2 separate regions of the Homo sapiens genome follow, and region 2 is linked to region 1. The links are contacts of gene promoters, found by promoter capture Hi-C in human tissues and cell types (Jung and others, 2019). All regions are on one chromosome and are shown on one strand. The core of a region is centred on a gene start or on the middle of the fragment in contact, and the rest is flanking DNA. Distances in the headings are between cores, read along the strand shown. Region 1 holds the start of CYP4F3 (cytochrome P450 family 4 subfamily F member 3). Region 2 has its middle 26 kb from the start of UCA1.

Region 1 (7,353 bases), core at 2,493-4,992:
TTTTGATACAGGCATGCAATGCACAGTAATCAAATCATGGAGAATAGATTATCCATCCCCTCAAGCATTTATCCTTTGTGTTACAAACAATCCAGTTACATTCTTTTCATTATTTTAAAATGTACGATTAAGTTATTATTGACTATAGTCACCCTGTTGTACTATCAAATAGTAGGTCTTATTATAGGTCTAATTAATTCTTTCTATCTTTATTTGTACCCATTAACCATCCCTAACTTCCCCTCACTCCTCCACTCCCCTTCCCAGCCTCTGGTAACCATCCTTCTACTCTCTATCTCCATGAGTTCAAAGTACCTCTTTTTTTGATATGATGTTAAAACCAGATACCATGATCACTCACCTAATTTTTGGTTCTTATGAAGGTATTTTCTTGTGTGGATATTTGTTGTATTTGGCGTTCCTGTGGAGGAGACGATCAATGACGCATTTTATTCTGCCATCTTGCTCTACCTCCTCCTTTTTGTGATTCAGATGAGACTCCTTGACAGCTGGTGGCTAAATTTTCAAATGCAATATTTTTGGCAGAAAATATATTCACTCATGTAAAAAATAAAATGCACAGTGAAAAATGTTTCTTGTACCTATGCCCTTCATTTATCCAGTCTCGCCGTCTTTACAAAGGTAAACACTTTTACTTTTTCTGTATCCTTTCATAGTATATTTAGGCAAATAATACATGTAATTAATCTCCTTTGTTCAGGATGATGAATTGCCCCCCCCCCCCACGATGGTCAGTTCACCTCCCTGGGGCACAACTGTAAAACCCTCACAGCTCTAGCTGTATTCAGGGTCAACTCCACCAGCCATTTCATCCACCATATGACTCCTACAGATGAGATACGTAAGGTGCAGACAGGTTGAGAGATTTGCCCAAGGTCACACAGCCAGGAAATAGCAGAACTGTATCCAAACCTAGGCCTGGTGAACATCCACAATACCGCATGCCTCCTGCATGGTCTCAAACTCCTTCTCCTTGTCCTTGCCTGTGGACAGCCCCACTCATCTTAAAATTACATTTACGGCCAGGCACAGTGGCTCATGCCTATAATCCAAGCACTTTGGGAGTCCGAGGCAGGAGGATAACCTGAGGTTGGGAGTTGGAGACCAGCCTGACCAAAATGGAGAAACCTTGTCTCTACTAAAAATACAAAATTATCTGGGCATGGTGCTGCATGCCTATAATCCCAGTTGCTTGGGAGGCTGAGGCAGGAGAATCGGAGGCGGAGGTTGCTGTGAGCCAAGATAGGGCCATTGCACTCCAGCCTGGGCAACAAGAGTGAGACTCCGTCTCAAAAAAAAAAAAAAAAAAACCAAAACCAAAAAAAAGCAAAAAACCAAAAAAACATTTACTCAGTAGGCACTCTTTTTTTTTTTTTGATGATGAGTATCGCTCTGTCTCCTAGGCTGAAGTGCAGTGGCATGATCTCAGCTCACTGCAACCTCTGCCTCCTGGGTTCAAGCAATTCTCCTGCCTCAGCCTCCTGAGTAGCTGGGATTGCAGGCACACACCACCATGCCCAGCTAATTTTTTGTAATTTTAGTAGAAGCAGGGTTTCACCATGTTGGTCAGGCTGGTCTCGAACTGCTGACCTCGTGATCTGCCCGCCTCGGCCTCCCAAAGTGCTGGGATTGCAGGTGTAAGCCACTGTGCCTGGCCCAGTAGGCACTCTTTAAGAGCAGGTGTCACACAGTAGAAACTCTATGTAGACCATATGTAGACCATGAGTCACAGAGTGGGCACACTATGAAGAGCAGGTGGCAGCAGTAGGCACTCTTTATGTAGAGCAGGCAGCAGTGAGTAGGCACTCTTTATCAGGAGCAGATGATACTCAGTAAACACTCTTTATATAGAGCAGGTGGCATCTGTAGGCACTCTTTATCTAGAGCAAGTGGCATTCAATGGGCTCTCTCTCTTTTTTATTTTTTTGTGAGACAGAGTCTCACTCTGTTGCCCAGGCTGGAGTGCAGTGGTATGAACTCAGCTCACTGCAAACTCTGCCTCCCGGGTTCATGAGATTCTCCTGCCTCAGCCTCCCGAGTAGCTGGGATCATAGGTGCCCGCCACCACGCCCGGCTAATTTTTGTATTTTTAGTAGAGATGGGGTTTCACCATGTTGGCCAGGCTGGTCTTGAACTCCCGACCTCAGATGATCTGCCTGCCTTGGCCTCCCAAAGTGCTTGGATTACAGGCATGAGCTACTGTGCCTGGCCAGTAGGCACTCTTTATGTATTGCAGGTGGTACTGAGTAGGCACTTTTTATGTAGCGCAGGCAAGAGTAGGAACTCTTCATGTAGAGCAAGCAGCACTCAGTAGGCACCCTTTATGTACAGAAGGCAGCCCACAGTAGGTACACTTTATGGAGCACAGGCAACACTCGAGCAGGCAGCACTCAATAGACCCTCTTTATGTAGATCAGGAAACACTCAGTAGGAAGTCACCATATAGAGCAGGTGGTATCAGTAGGCACTGTTTATGTAGAGCACTTGGCACTCAGTAGGCATGTGTTATGTAGACAGCAACTGGTGCTCAGTGGGCACTCTTCATATACAGGGGGTGGCACTCAATAGGCACTCACTATGTAGAGCAGGTGGCACACAGTAGGCACTCTATGAGGAATATCAGGAACTGAGTATACAGGGTTAATGTAGAGCACCTGGCACACAGTAGGCACACTTTATGGAAAGCACTTGGCACAGAGTAGACAGGATTTAGCACCTGGCACACAGTAGCTGCCCTTCATTTAGAGTATTGGCACACAGTAGAAGTACTTTCCATGCAGCCTTTGTGCAGAGTAGAGACTGGCACACAGCAGCTCAAGTGCTAGTTGCCACCCTTTCCCTTCACTCCTTTTTGGGGCTCCCTCCTCTTAGGAGCCCTCATTGTCCCCCGCTAAGGCCCTCATCGAACATCCCATTTCCCAGATGGGAAGACTGCACCCAGGAGGGGCAGTACTGACCAAAGTCAGAGCAAGGATGAGGCAGAATGAGGACTCCATTCATGGTTCCCTGGCTCTGCCCTTCCCCTGCCTGGACCCCATCCGTTCCCTCTCATCCTAACCCTCCACGTCCCCGCTCTGTCCTCCTATACTGAGTCCGGCCTCCAGATTTGCTTTTCCAGCTGAGCTCTTAATCTCCAGAATCTGACCCAGGTAATCCTCAGTGGGGCTGGATTCTTTGTTCCCGTTCCTAGCAGTCAGGTCTCCAACAGGGCCCTGGACTGCCTGGAGGCAAGACTTGAACTCCATCCAGCAGCAGGGGGATAGAGGCTTGTCTCTTCCAGGTTGCCTGATTCAGCATCCAGAAGTGGTACACGGTGTCCTACCGGCCCAGGGTTAGAGAGGAGCACAGGAGATGATCTGGAACAAGGCTTGGCCTGGCCTGGCTCGCTTGACACCTGAACTCTCAAGTTCATGCTTTTATCTGCCACACACTCAGTAGGTGCTCTTTAAGAGCAGGTGTCACACAGTGGAAACTCTATCTGACCCCTCTCGGCTTACTCTCCACCTTATGTGGGAGGTGCTGAGACCTGAGGATCCAGTGCCTGTGCTGTGTCACCCTGAGCTGGTTCCTCTGCATCCAGCTGGTCTCCCACACCCAGGTTTTGGCCAGCTGCCCAGACATGGGAGCGGCACCCAGGCTGTGGGGATTGGCTGGCCCAGCCCAGCCCAGCCTAGCCTCCCACAGCCTTCCCTACATCAGGGGCCAGGGGAAAAAACCTCCCAGAAGAAGGGGAGAGGAGGTTGTGTGGGACAAGGTGCTCCTGACAGAAGGTGCCAGGGTGGGGGTGGTGGGCCTGGGGCATCCTAGCCTGTGATGGAGATGGGCACTGGGCAAGGGATTGGGCGCACACATAGGGGAGCCCCAGCCTTCCCACATTCTCCATTGCTGCCCAAGGCCCAGGCAGCTCCTGGTTGCTGGCTTGGAGGATGAGTGGTTTTCTAACTGAAACCAAGCCCCTGGCAACGTCCTAATGATTCAGGCTGGGCCTTTCTGGACTTTAATCAGTTTCTCTGTCTTTCTCAATCTAAGTGCTTACCGGGTAACTGGAGGCCACTTGGTTGCTGGTTTTGGCTGGGCCTTTCTGGACTTTACCCCTCAGCCCCTGTTTATCCATCCCTGTTTACTCTTACTGTTCTATCTCCAGCACTGCCCGTCTCTGCCTCTCTCCACTGTCCCTGGAGCTCCCTGGGCCCTTCCCTGGGCCTCAGGACCTCACTCACCACCCCATCTGCCCTGCAGGATGCCACAGCTGAGCCTGTCCTCGCTGGGCCTTTGGCCAATGGCAGCATCCCCGTGGCTGCTCCTGCTGCTGGTTGGGGCCTCCTGGCTCCTGGCCCGCATCCTGGCCTGGACCTATACCTTCTATGACAACTGCTGCCGCCTCCGGTGTTTCCCGCAACCCCCGAAACGGAATTGGTTCTTGGGTCACCTGGGCCTGGTGAGTGTGGCAGCAGGACGGGTCTGGGGTCTCAGGGTGGATGGACTTCCTGAGGGGTAAGAATGAGGCTCAGGTGAGAGGGGGTGGGCTGGGGTCTGGGGTGGCAGAGAAGCAGGGGAGGCGTCTTACTCATTCCTCTGCTTACTCATTTCTGTGAGGTGCCAACCCAAGCCCTTCTCACCTCCCTGTTCTCCCACTCTTGGCCTGTGTTGAATCCTTTTCCTGCCTGTCTTTCCACATTAATGCACCTCTGCGGGGCTCTTGGGCAGGGGGTTGGGTGCACAGAAAGGTGAACCCCTGGCGTTCCCACATTCTCCATTGCTGGACTCGAGGCCTCCTGTACCCACTGTTCAGGGTCCTCTCCCTACCTGGCCTATTTCCTCTTATGAGGGTATAGGTGGGCCAGAGGAGAGGTGTGGGCTGTCTCTCACCTCCACCACATCCGGAGGCACCTTCCTCTTATCTTGTTCCTCCCCAGTAAGATGTCCCAATGGGGTCCTGTTGCCAAACCCACATAAAAGTTGGCCACTCACTTCCCCTTTCAGAAGCCTTCCCTGACCTTTCTCCTCCCCCAGACCTTGCCCTCTGACTTAGACCTGCTCTCCCCTTTGCGGAACGTGGTCTCAATCTGCTCATTGCAAATGGCAGGATTGATGGGTGTGTCCACAGGTGAAGTGGGAGGGTGCACAGGATGCACTAGCACAGAGCCTGGTGCAGAAGCTTCTCCCAGGTGGGAGCCACTGTCATGATGGACAGTTAGAGTCACCTCTGCTCCCCTAGTGACTGCTGAGAAGGGAAGGTCCCCTGTGTGCAGAACCTTCTCCATGGGAGGAACTGGAACCTGTGTGGCTGGTGGAGGAACCAGCCAGGGCATGAAGGGATGTGGGGACCAGCCTTAGGGACATGTCCTGAGTCCACACTGCTCCCCACAAACCTCCCCTGTGAGGACCTCCTCATATGCCCACCTCTGGGCTGAAATGACTCCCAGAACAAGGAAATTTTTCCTCTCAAGCTAAGTGGGCCTCTGTGAGTGGACAGTGTGTCTTTTCCTTCTGCCTTGGGATGCGCTCTTGGGACTTGGGGGTGGCCCCAAGAGAGATAGAGCAGGAGGAATGTAGACAGATAGATAGGTAATAGGATAGATGGATGGATGGATGCACAGATAGGGTGAATAGATGGCTGGCTGGCTGGATAAGTAGGTGGGTAGATAGACAGATAGATAGATAGATAACAGGATAGATGGATGGATGGACAGATGGATGCATGGATAAGATGGATGGATGGATGGATGGATGGATGGATGGATGGATAATACATACATAAAGTAGTAGATAAGATGGATACATTAGGTGGATAGATAGGTAGAGTGGATATGTAGGATGGATAGATTAGATGGATGGATAGATAGCTAGATGATTGATAGATAATAGGATAAATGGATGAGTGGATGAATGTACAGATAAGATGGATGGATGGATGGATGGATGGGCAGATAGATATATAGATAGAAAAGTTAGATAGGATGAATAGATTAGATAGATAAATGAATAGATAGATAGGTAGGTAGATAGATAATAGGCTAGATGGATGAATGGATGCACAGATAGGATAGATGAATGGATAGATAGACAGATATATAAGATAGAATGGATGGATTAGATAGATGGATAGATACATAGAAACATAGGTAGATAGATAGATTAGATAGATAGATAGATAGACAGATAGATACATACATACATACATATATAGATACATAGATAGGTAGATATGTAGAGATATATATAGGTAAATAGATAGATAGATAGATAGATAGATAGATAGATAGATAGATAGATAGATAGACAGACAGGCAGACAGACAGATAGATAGATAGAAGAGGGAGTTTATTTCGGGAATTGGCTCACAGGATTATAGAAGCTGAGATGCGTCATGGACTGCTGTCTGCAGGCTGGATAAACAGACACTGGTTGTGTAACTGAGTCCAAAGGCCTGAGACGGTGGAGTTCTGGTGTCCAAGGGCAGGAGAAGATGGATGTGCCAGCCCCACAACAGAGCAAATTAGCCTTTCCTCTGCATTTTTGTGCTACCTGGGCTCTCAACAGATTGAATGAGCTCTGCCCACACTGGGGAGGGTGATTCTTCCTTCCTCAGTTTACCAAATTGAATGCCAGTCTCTTCTGGAAACACCCTCACAGACGGATGATCAACTATCTGGGCATCCTTTAGCCCAGTCAAGTGGACACCTAGAATTAACCATGACAGGAGGTGACGGCCCCTGCCTTGCTTGCAGGTCACCCCCACGGAGCAGGGCATGAGGGTCCTGACTCAGCTGGTGGCCACCTACCCCCAGGGCTTTAAGGTCTGGATGGGCCCCATCTTCCCCGTCATCCGTTTTTGCCACCCCAACATCATCCGGTCTGTCATCAACGCCTCAGGTACCACCTGGAATACTTGGTGGTGGGTGCTATGGTGCATTTGAGGCCTGCAAGTCCCTCTATCCCCAAGCCGTGTGTGGCCCCTGCAGTACTCTGGTCTCTCCTTTCCTTCTCTCTCAGCCATCTTCATCTTTCTTTCATGTATTCACTAATTCCCATCTCAGCATCTCCTCTCTCCATTGCCATCTGACCCCCTGTCCTGGTGTTCTGGGCTGCCCTGGGGCCCCAAGAGACCTCAACCCAAGGCCCTGTCCTGGAGGAACCCCCAAGCTTAAGGAGGTGGATGTGGACAGAGACATCCCCAACTTCATGGGGTCAAGAAAGGGCCAGAGGGAGATGGATGACAGCCCAGAGAAGAGCAAGTTCTCTGCTGGGGCAGGCTGGAAGCCTTCCTGGAGGAAGAGTTACTGGAGCCATGTCTGGAACAATGAGTAGGGATGTTTGAAAGGAGAGTGC
Region 2 (7,353 bases), core at 1,989-4,488, 210 kb after region 1:
AAGCTGTACCCCAACCACCTTGGGCACATGTTGTCAGTACCTCTTGAGGCTGTGTCAGGGTTACATCCTTAACCTGGGCAAAATAAATTTTCTAAATTGATTGAGACCTGTCTCAGATATTTTCGGATTCACACAACTGACAACCACAAAGCTTCATTTCTTGGCTACATTTATATCCATAGTGGGTCCACAGAAGCTCTGTTCTGCAGGGTCTTCTTCCTTGCAGGACCAAGTGTGAAAAAGTGGCCTCTCTCTGGGATGGGCTGTTCTTGTAGCAAGGGAAAAGCAAAAATAATATAACCACATAAGGCTCTTAAGGTTCCTGCTCAGTGGTGGTACATGCCAATTCCTGTTCCATCTCATTACCTCAAGCAGGAGCATGGCCAAGCCTGGCTTTAATGGGAGTGGGAACTACAATCCCCTTGCAGGGATAGACGGACCCAACATTGCTCCTGGGGCGTTTCTTCCACTCAGCAGAAATCAGAAAAGGACATGAAAAGTGAGTAAGCCTTGTGCCAAGAAAGACTCTAGGCTTTGGAGAAACGTCCTTTATTGTTGCCTCTGGGGATTCAGAGCCCAGAGAGGGCAGGGATGGAGGTTGAGGATGCACAACAAGAGGTTTACACCAATCTTATGGGGTAGGGGCCTAGGTCAGCAGCTCTGCCTCTTCTCACAGATGTAAACAGGAGACTCTGATTTGCAAGAGGAGTTGCTCCAGTGTCCCTGGTAGAGCATCATCACACAGGCTGGGGTGGTTCCATTATCATCCAATTTCCTGGAGTCCCAGTTTCTGTGAAGAGATGCCCACCACATCCCTTTCTGATGGGACCAGAGCCTGAAGCCCCAACTCCTGCCCTCTGTGAGTCAGGATCTGCCACCTGAAGCTCAAGAGGCCCCCAGTTATTGGGGCCTCTTATTGAGCCCATTGTATGGCCACTTATTGAGCCCATTGTATGGTAACCATCTGGTCAACCCCTTCCCTCTTTTTTTCCAAGTGGAGCTCAGATAGGAGTAGCAACAAGGCCACAGTCTTCAGAAAAGCTGAAAGTCTTCCAGCTCCTGGGCCACCATCCGACTGCCCCATCCCTCTGGGCTTCTCCCCTTCTCCAAGGTCCATTCCGCTTGAAACCAGACAGACCCCATTCAAATTCCAGCTCTGCCACTTGTATCTGTTTGACTACGGTCTTAATGTCTATGAGCTGCCGTTTCCTGTTTCACAAAATAGAAATTCATTCTGAGGATATGATGACCAGTGCACATAAGGTATACGGAAGGTGCTCAGATTGCAGATCAATCTGCCAATGAGACAACTTCTGCCCTAAGCTTGGCCCCATGCAGAGCAGCTTGCCAGTCAGGGAAGGTGATGCAGGAGGTAGGAAATGTCGCAGAAAAAGGCATACAGTGTGAGGATGCAAGACAATGCCAAGAGGTATAGTGAATTAAAGTGTCCTCTCCAAAAATATATGCCATGTCCAACCCCCTAACACCTGTGCATGTGACTTTACTTGGAAAGGGGGTCTTTACAGCTGTAATTAAATGAAAGCTCTCAAGATGAGATCATCCTGGGTTTGTCAGGTGGGCCCTAAATCCAATGTTGAGTGTCCTTATAACAGACAGAAAAAAGGAGACACAGAGGTGAGGAGAAGGCCGTGAGAAGACAGAGGCAGACAGTGGAGTGATGCCGCCGCAAGCCAAGGAATGCCTGGAGCCACCAGAAGCTGGAAAACACAGGGAAAGATTCTTCCTCAGACCCTTTGGAAGGGGCATGGCCCTACCGACATTTTGACTGGAAACCTCTGGCCTCCAGAACGGTGAAAGAACACATTTCTGTTGTTTTAAGCCACCCAGTTTGCAGTACTTTGCTATGGCAGCCATGGGAAAGTCATACAGTTGGCAAATGCTACATTGTTTCACTCCTTCTGAGTAGGCTTAGTGCTCATTAGCACATTCAGGGCTCTGAAAAGTCCTGCAACAAAGAAAGCAGTTTGACAACAGGTGCTGGCAAGGTTGCAGAGAAACGGGAATGCTTTTACGCTGTTGGTGGGAATGTAAATTAATTCAACCATTGTGGAATTCCTCAAAGATCTAGAACCAGAAATATCATTTGACCCAGCAATCCCATTACTGGGTATATGCCCAGAGGAGTATAAATCATTCTGTTACAAGGATACATGCACGCCTGTGTTCATTGAAGCACTATTTAAGACATGGAATTAACCCAAATGACCATCCATGATAGACTGGATAAAGAAAATGTGGTACGTATACACCATGGAACACTATGCAATCGTAAAAAGGAACGAGATCGTGTCCTTTACAGGGATATAGATGGAGCTGGAAGCCATTATTTTCAGTGAACTAATGCAGGAACAGAAAACCAAACACAGCGTGTTCTCACTTATAAGTGGGAGCCAAACAATGAGAACACATGGACACAGGGAGGGGAACAACACACAGTGAGGCCTGTCAGGAGGTGGGGTTGGGGGAGGGAGAGCATTAGGAAAAATAGCTAATGCATGCTGGGTTTAATATCTAGGTGATGAGTTGATAGGTGCAGCAAACAATCATCGCACACATTTACCTATGTAACCAACCTGCATATCCTGCACGTGTACCCCAGAAATTAAAATTCAAATAAAATTTAAAAAAGATTATGACTCTCTCTGAAGGCTCAGATGATTGTTAGCACTTTTTATCAATAAAGTATATTTAAATTTAAAAAAAAAGAGTTTGACATTGAACCCATAATTTCTCAAGCACCAAACTGGGAACACTCTTGTCAAGTAACAAAATAACTATAACTAGGATAATAGAAAAGATGTCGGCTGTGCGCGGTGGCTCACGCCTGTAATCCCAGCACTTTGGGAGGCCGAGGCCGGCGAATCCCCTGAGGTCAGGAGTTTGAGACCAGCCTGGCCAACATGATGAAACCCCGTCTCTACTAAAAATACAAAAAATTAGCTGGGTGTGGTGGCAGGTGCCTGTAATGCCAGCTACTCAGAAAGCTGAGGCAGGAGAATCGCTTGAACCCAGGAGGCAGAGGTGGCAGCGAGCCAAGATCGCACCACTGCACTCCAGCCTGGGCAACAAGAGTGAAACTCCATCTTAAAAAAAACAAAAAACAGAAAGGATATCAGGCAGTTTGGGAGCTACTACGGGTACTTCATTGTGAATGAATGAAAGAGAAACACCTACAGTGGTCATAACTTACTGCCTGAAAGCCATGCCTGCCTCTTAGGGGAGACTATCTTTGGTGTCAAAGGAGATACTCACATGTAGGTGGGGGCTGAGCCATCCATCCACCTGTGGGCACTTCCTTGGCCATCTTTGAAGAGGCCTATCCAGGATGTCGCCTGGTTAGTTGATGTCAGGAAGTCCTGGAAGGAAGAAGTTACATTTGGGAGGTGGAATTCCTTGGAAGCTGAAAGGATGGAGGCAGGGGTGTACAGAGGGCGAGAGGAGTAAGTTGCAGAGATCACAGTTAGATGGGCAGGCAGACAGAGGCAGGCAGGGAATTCACTGCCCTTGAATCTTGACTTTGAATCTCAGATCTACTATGTATTAGGTTGGTGCAAAAGTTATCGTGGTTTTACCACTATAGAAAACAGTGTGGAGATTCCTTAAAGAACTGAAAATAGGGCCGGACACGGTGGCTCACGCCTGTAATCCCAGCACTTTGAGAAGCCAAGGCGGGTGGATCACCGGAGGTCAGGAGTTCGAGACCAGCCTGACCAACATGGAGAAATCCCGTCTCTACTAAAAATACAAAATTAGCTGGGCATGGTGGCACATGCCTGTAATCTCAGCTACTCGGGAGGCTGCAGCAGGAGAATTGCTTGAAGCTGGGAGGCGAAGGTTGCGGTGAGCCGAGATCACACCATTGTACTCCAGCCCGGGCACCAAGAGCAAAACTCTGTCTCAAAAAGAAAAGAAAAGAAAAAAAAGAACTAAAAATAGAACTACCATCTGATCTACCAATCCCACTACTGGGTATCTACCCAGAGGAATAGAAGTCATTATACGAAAAAGATATTTGCACAAGCACTTTTATAGCAGCACAACTCACTATTGCAAAAATATGGAACCAGCCCAAACGCCCATCAATCAATGAGTGGATAAAGAAACTGTGAGATAGATATATACTGTGAGATATATATATACTGTGAGATATATATATACACATATATACACACATATATAATATATACACATATGTATACTGTGAGATATATATACACATACACATATGTGTGTATGTGTACATATATACATGTGTGTATATATACATATATACATATATAATATGTGTGTATATATATACACATATATACACGTGTGTATATATACACATATACATATATACACGTGTGTATATATACACATACATACATATGTATATATGTGTATATGTATGTATATATGCACACACAGTGGAATGCTACTCAGCCATAAAAAGGAATGTATTAATGGCATTTGCAGCAACCTGGATGGAATTGGAGACCATTATTCTAAGTGAAGTAACTCAGGAATGGAAAACCAAACATCGTATGTTCTCTCATAAGTGGGAGCTAAGCTATGAGGATGCAAAGACATAATAATGACACAATGGACTTTGGGAACTTGGGGGTAAAGGGTGGGAAGGGGTGAGGGATAAAATTAGGTTCAGTGTATACTGCTCAGGTGATGGGTGCACAAAATCTCACAAATCACCACTAAATAACCTACTCATGTAACCAAGTACCACCTGACCTCAGGTGATCCACCTGCCTCCACCTCCCAAAGTGCTGGGATTACAGGCGTGAGCCACCGTGTCCGGCCCTATTTTCAGTTCTTTAAGGAATCTCCACACTGTTTTCTATAGTGGTAAAACCACAATAACTTTTGCACCAACCTAATACATAGTAGATCTGGGATTCAAAGTCAGGATTCGAGGGCAGTGAATTCCCTGCCTGCCTCTGTCTGTCTTCCCATCTAACTGTGTCTCTGCATCTTACTCCTCTCGCCCTCTGGACACCCCCGCCTCCATCATTTCAGCTTCCAAGGAATTCCACCTGTTCCCCCAAAACCTATGGAAATAAAAAATAAAATAATCGCAGTTTTTGCCATTGAAAGTAATACACGTTGCAATGGCCTCCAACAATTCAGCCACCCCTCAGTTTCCCCATCAGCACAAACAAAAGAATGGAGATCCCCAGCTCTTAATATATTCTCACGGCCGGGCACGTTGGCTCACACCTGCAATCCCAGCACTTTGGGAGGCCGAGGTGGGTGGATCACGAGGTCAGGAAATCGAGACCATCCTGGCTAACACAGTGAAACCCCGTCTCTACTAAAAATACAAAAAAACATTTAGCCAGGTATGGTGGCGGGTGCCTGTAGTCCCAGCTACTCGGGAAGCTGAGGCAGGAGAATGGTGTGAACCCTGCAGGCGGAGGTTGCAGTGAGCCGAGATCGCGCCACTGCACTCCAGCCTGGGCAACAGAGCGAGACTCTGTCTCAAAAAAAAAAAAAAAAAAATATATATATATATATATATATATATATATATATATATTCTCACAAGTCAATTGTGAGAAGTGTGTGCACCTAGGAAGACCCCCTGGATAAATATTGGCTGTGAGTGTGCATGTCAGAGCAAGCAGTTTGATCTATAGGCCGTAGGAAGACTTCTGTCAGGAGACTCAATCCCAGGGACAATCTTGAGACCCTATCTTAGGTCAAGCCTTGTTTTTGGCCTAGGAGACCCAGACATGATTCAGATCTAGCCCCAGAGTCAGTGGATACCAGGCAACCCCAATGCAGCATGAAGTTCTGGGATAAAGATCTCTGATGGGCCGGGCACGGTGGCTCATGCCTGTAATCCCAATACTTTGGGAGGCAGAGGAGGGTGTATCACCTGAGGTCAGGAGATCGGGACCATTCTGGCCAATATAGTGAAACCCCATCTCTACTAAAAATACAAAAATTAGCTGGGCGTGGTGGCGGGCGCCTGTAGTCCCAGCTACTTGGGAGGCTGAGGCAGGAGAATCGCTTGAACCTGGGAGATGGAGGTTGCAGTGAGCTGAGATTGCGCCACTGCACTCCAGCCTGGCGACAGAGTGAGACTTCATCTTTAAAAAAAAAAAATCTCTGATGATGCTACAAGAGGATGTGGAGGAAGGGATGTTTGTGTTGGGCTTTTGAGGGATGAATAAGACTTCTCCATGCAGATGGCAAAGGAAAGGACTGTCCAGAGAGTGACCCACAGGAATCAGAGCTTCGAGACAAGACTACAGTGCACAGGGTCCGTTCCCTGAATGACGGAGCAGTGAGATTGGGCTGGGGCAAGGGAAGGCAGATCTTCAAGATCCTACTAAGAGTACTGTACATGATCCCAAAGGGGATAAGGATAGGAATCCCAAAATTCTTGTAGAATCCTTCCTCCACCTCCACTAGGGTCCTAACTTTCCGTTTCCCACCTATTCTGCTCAGCTGTTGATGACAACCAAGTGAGCTGCTTCTGGGCACAAGAATCAATGGCCTGGGGCCAGGTGAGGTTGTCTGAAAAGAAGCTGTAACAGGAGCCCTGGAAGGCCTTCCAGCTCTTGGGGCAGGGCAGGCAGGAGGATTCTGTGAGGATGGAGCCATTAGCAAATTTAGTGTATCCAGCTTTCCACCCAGTTGCCCACCCACTCGCTTCTGGCCACATTCCTAATGGCTTCCACTTGAATACACCCAACAATGGGGAACTCACTACCTAGACAGTTGGTGCTTGACATTACTGAAACATATCAGAAGGACATACTAAAATGCCATAAATATCCTACTGGGTGTGTTAGCTCACGCCTGTAATCCAAACGCTTTGGGAAGCCAAGGCAGGTGGATCACTTGGGGTCAGGAGTTTGAGACCAACCTGGCCAACATGGTGAAACCCCATCTCTACCAAAAAAAATACAAGAATTAGCTGGGCATGGTGGCACGCACCTAGTCCCAGCTACTTGGGAGGCTGAGGTGGGAGAATTGCTTGAATCCAGGAGCTGGAGATTGCAGTAAGCCAAGATGGCATCACTGCATTCCACCCTGGGTGACAGAGTGAAGCTCTGTCTCAAAAAAAAAAAAAAAATGCCATAAATATCCTATTAAGTGGAAAAGGCAACTGTAGGAATAATGTGCCAGGCGCGGTTGGCTCACGCCTGTAATCCCAGCACATTGGGAGGCCGGGGCGGGTGGATCACTTGAGGTCAGGAGTTCAAGACCAGCCTGTCCAACATGGTGAAACCCCATCTCTACTAAAAATACAAAAATTGGCTGGGTGTGGTGGCGGGTGCTCATAATACCAGCTACTAAGGACCCTGAGGCAGGAGATTGCTTGAA

What was found. The method cuts DNA at HindIII sites, captures the fragments that hold promoters and counts their contacts. A contact is called where the count stands out against the background at its distance.
Region 2: a fragment that was not itself captured here is called in contact with the fragment with the promoter of CYP4F3 in region 1 in 2 of the 25 tissues and cell types used here (dorsolateral prefrontal cortex and spleen).

What each region holds. Positions count from the first base shown.
Region 1 is chr19:15,637,155-15,644,507 of GRCh38, forward strand. CYP4F3 (cytochrome P450 family 4 subfamily F member 3) reads left to right here and starts at 3,743. Exons shown (of 13, transcript NM_000896.3): 1 at 3,743-3,791; 2 at 4,261-4,459. The coding sequence starts at 4,262. The HindIII fragment of the contact is 9,363 bases long and covers 1-6,173 here.
Region 2 is chr19:15,851,460-15,858,812 of GRCh38, forward strand. It overlaps the pseudogene CLEC4OP. Among named protein-coding and RNA genes, the nearest start is that of UCA1, 26 kb to the left of the region's middle. The HindIII fragment of the contact is 7,299 bases long and covers 1-6,888 here.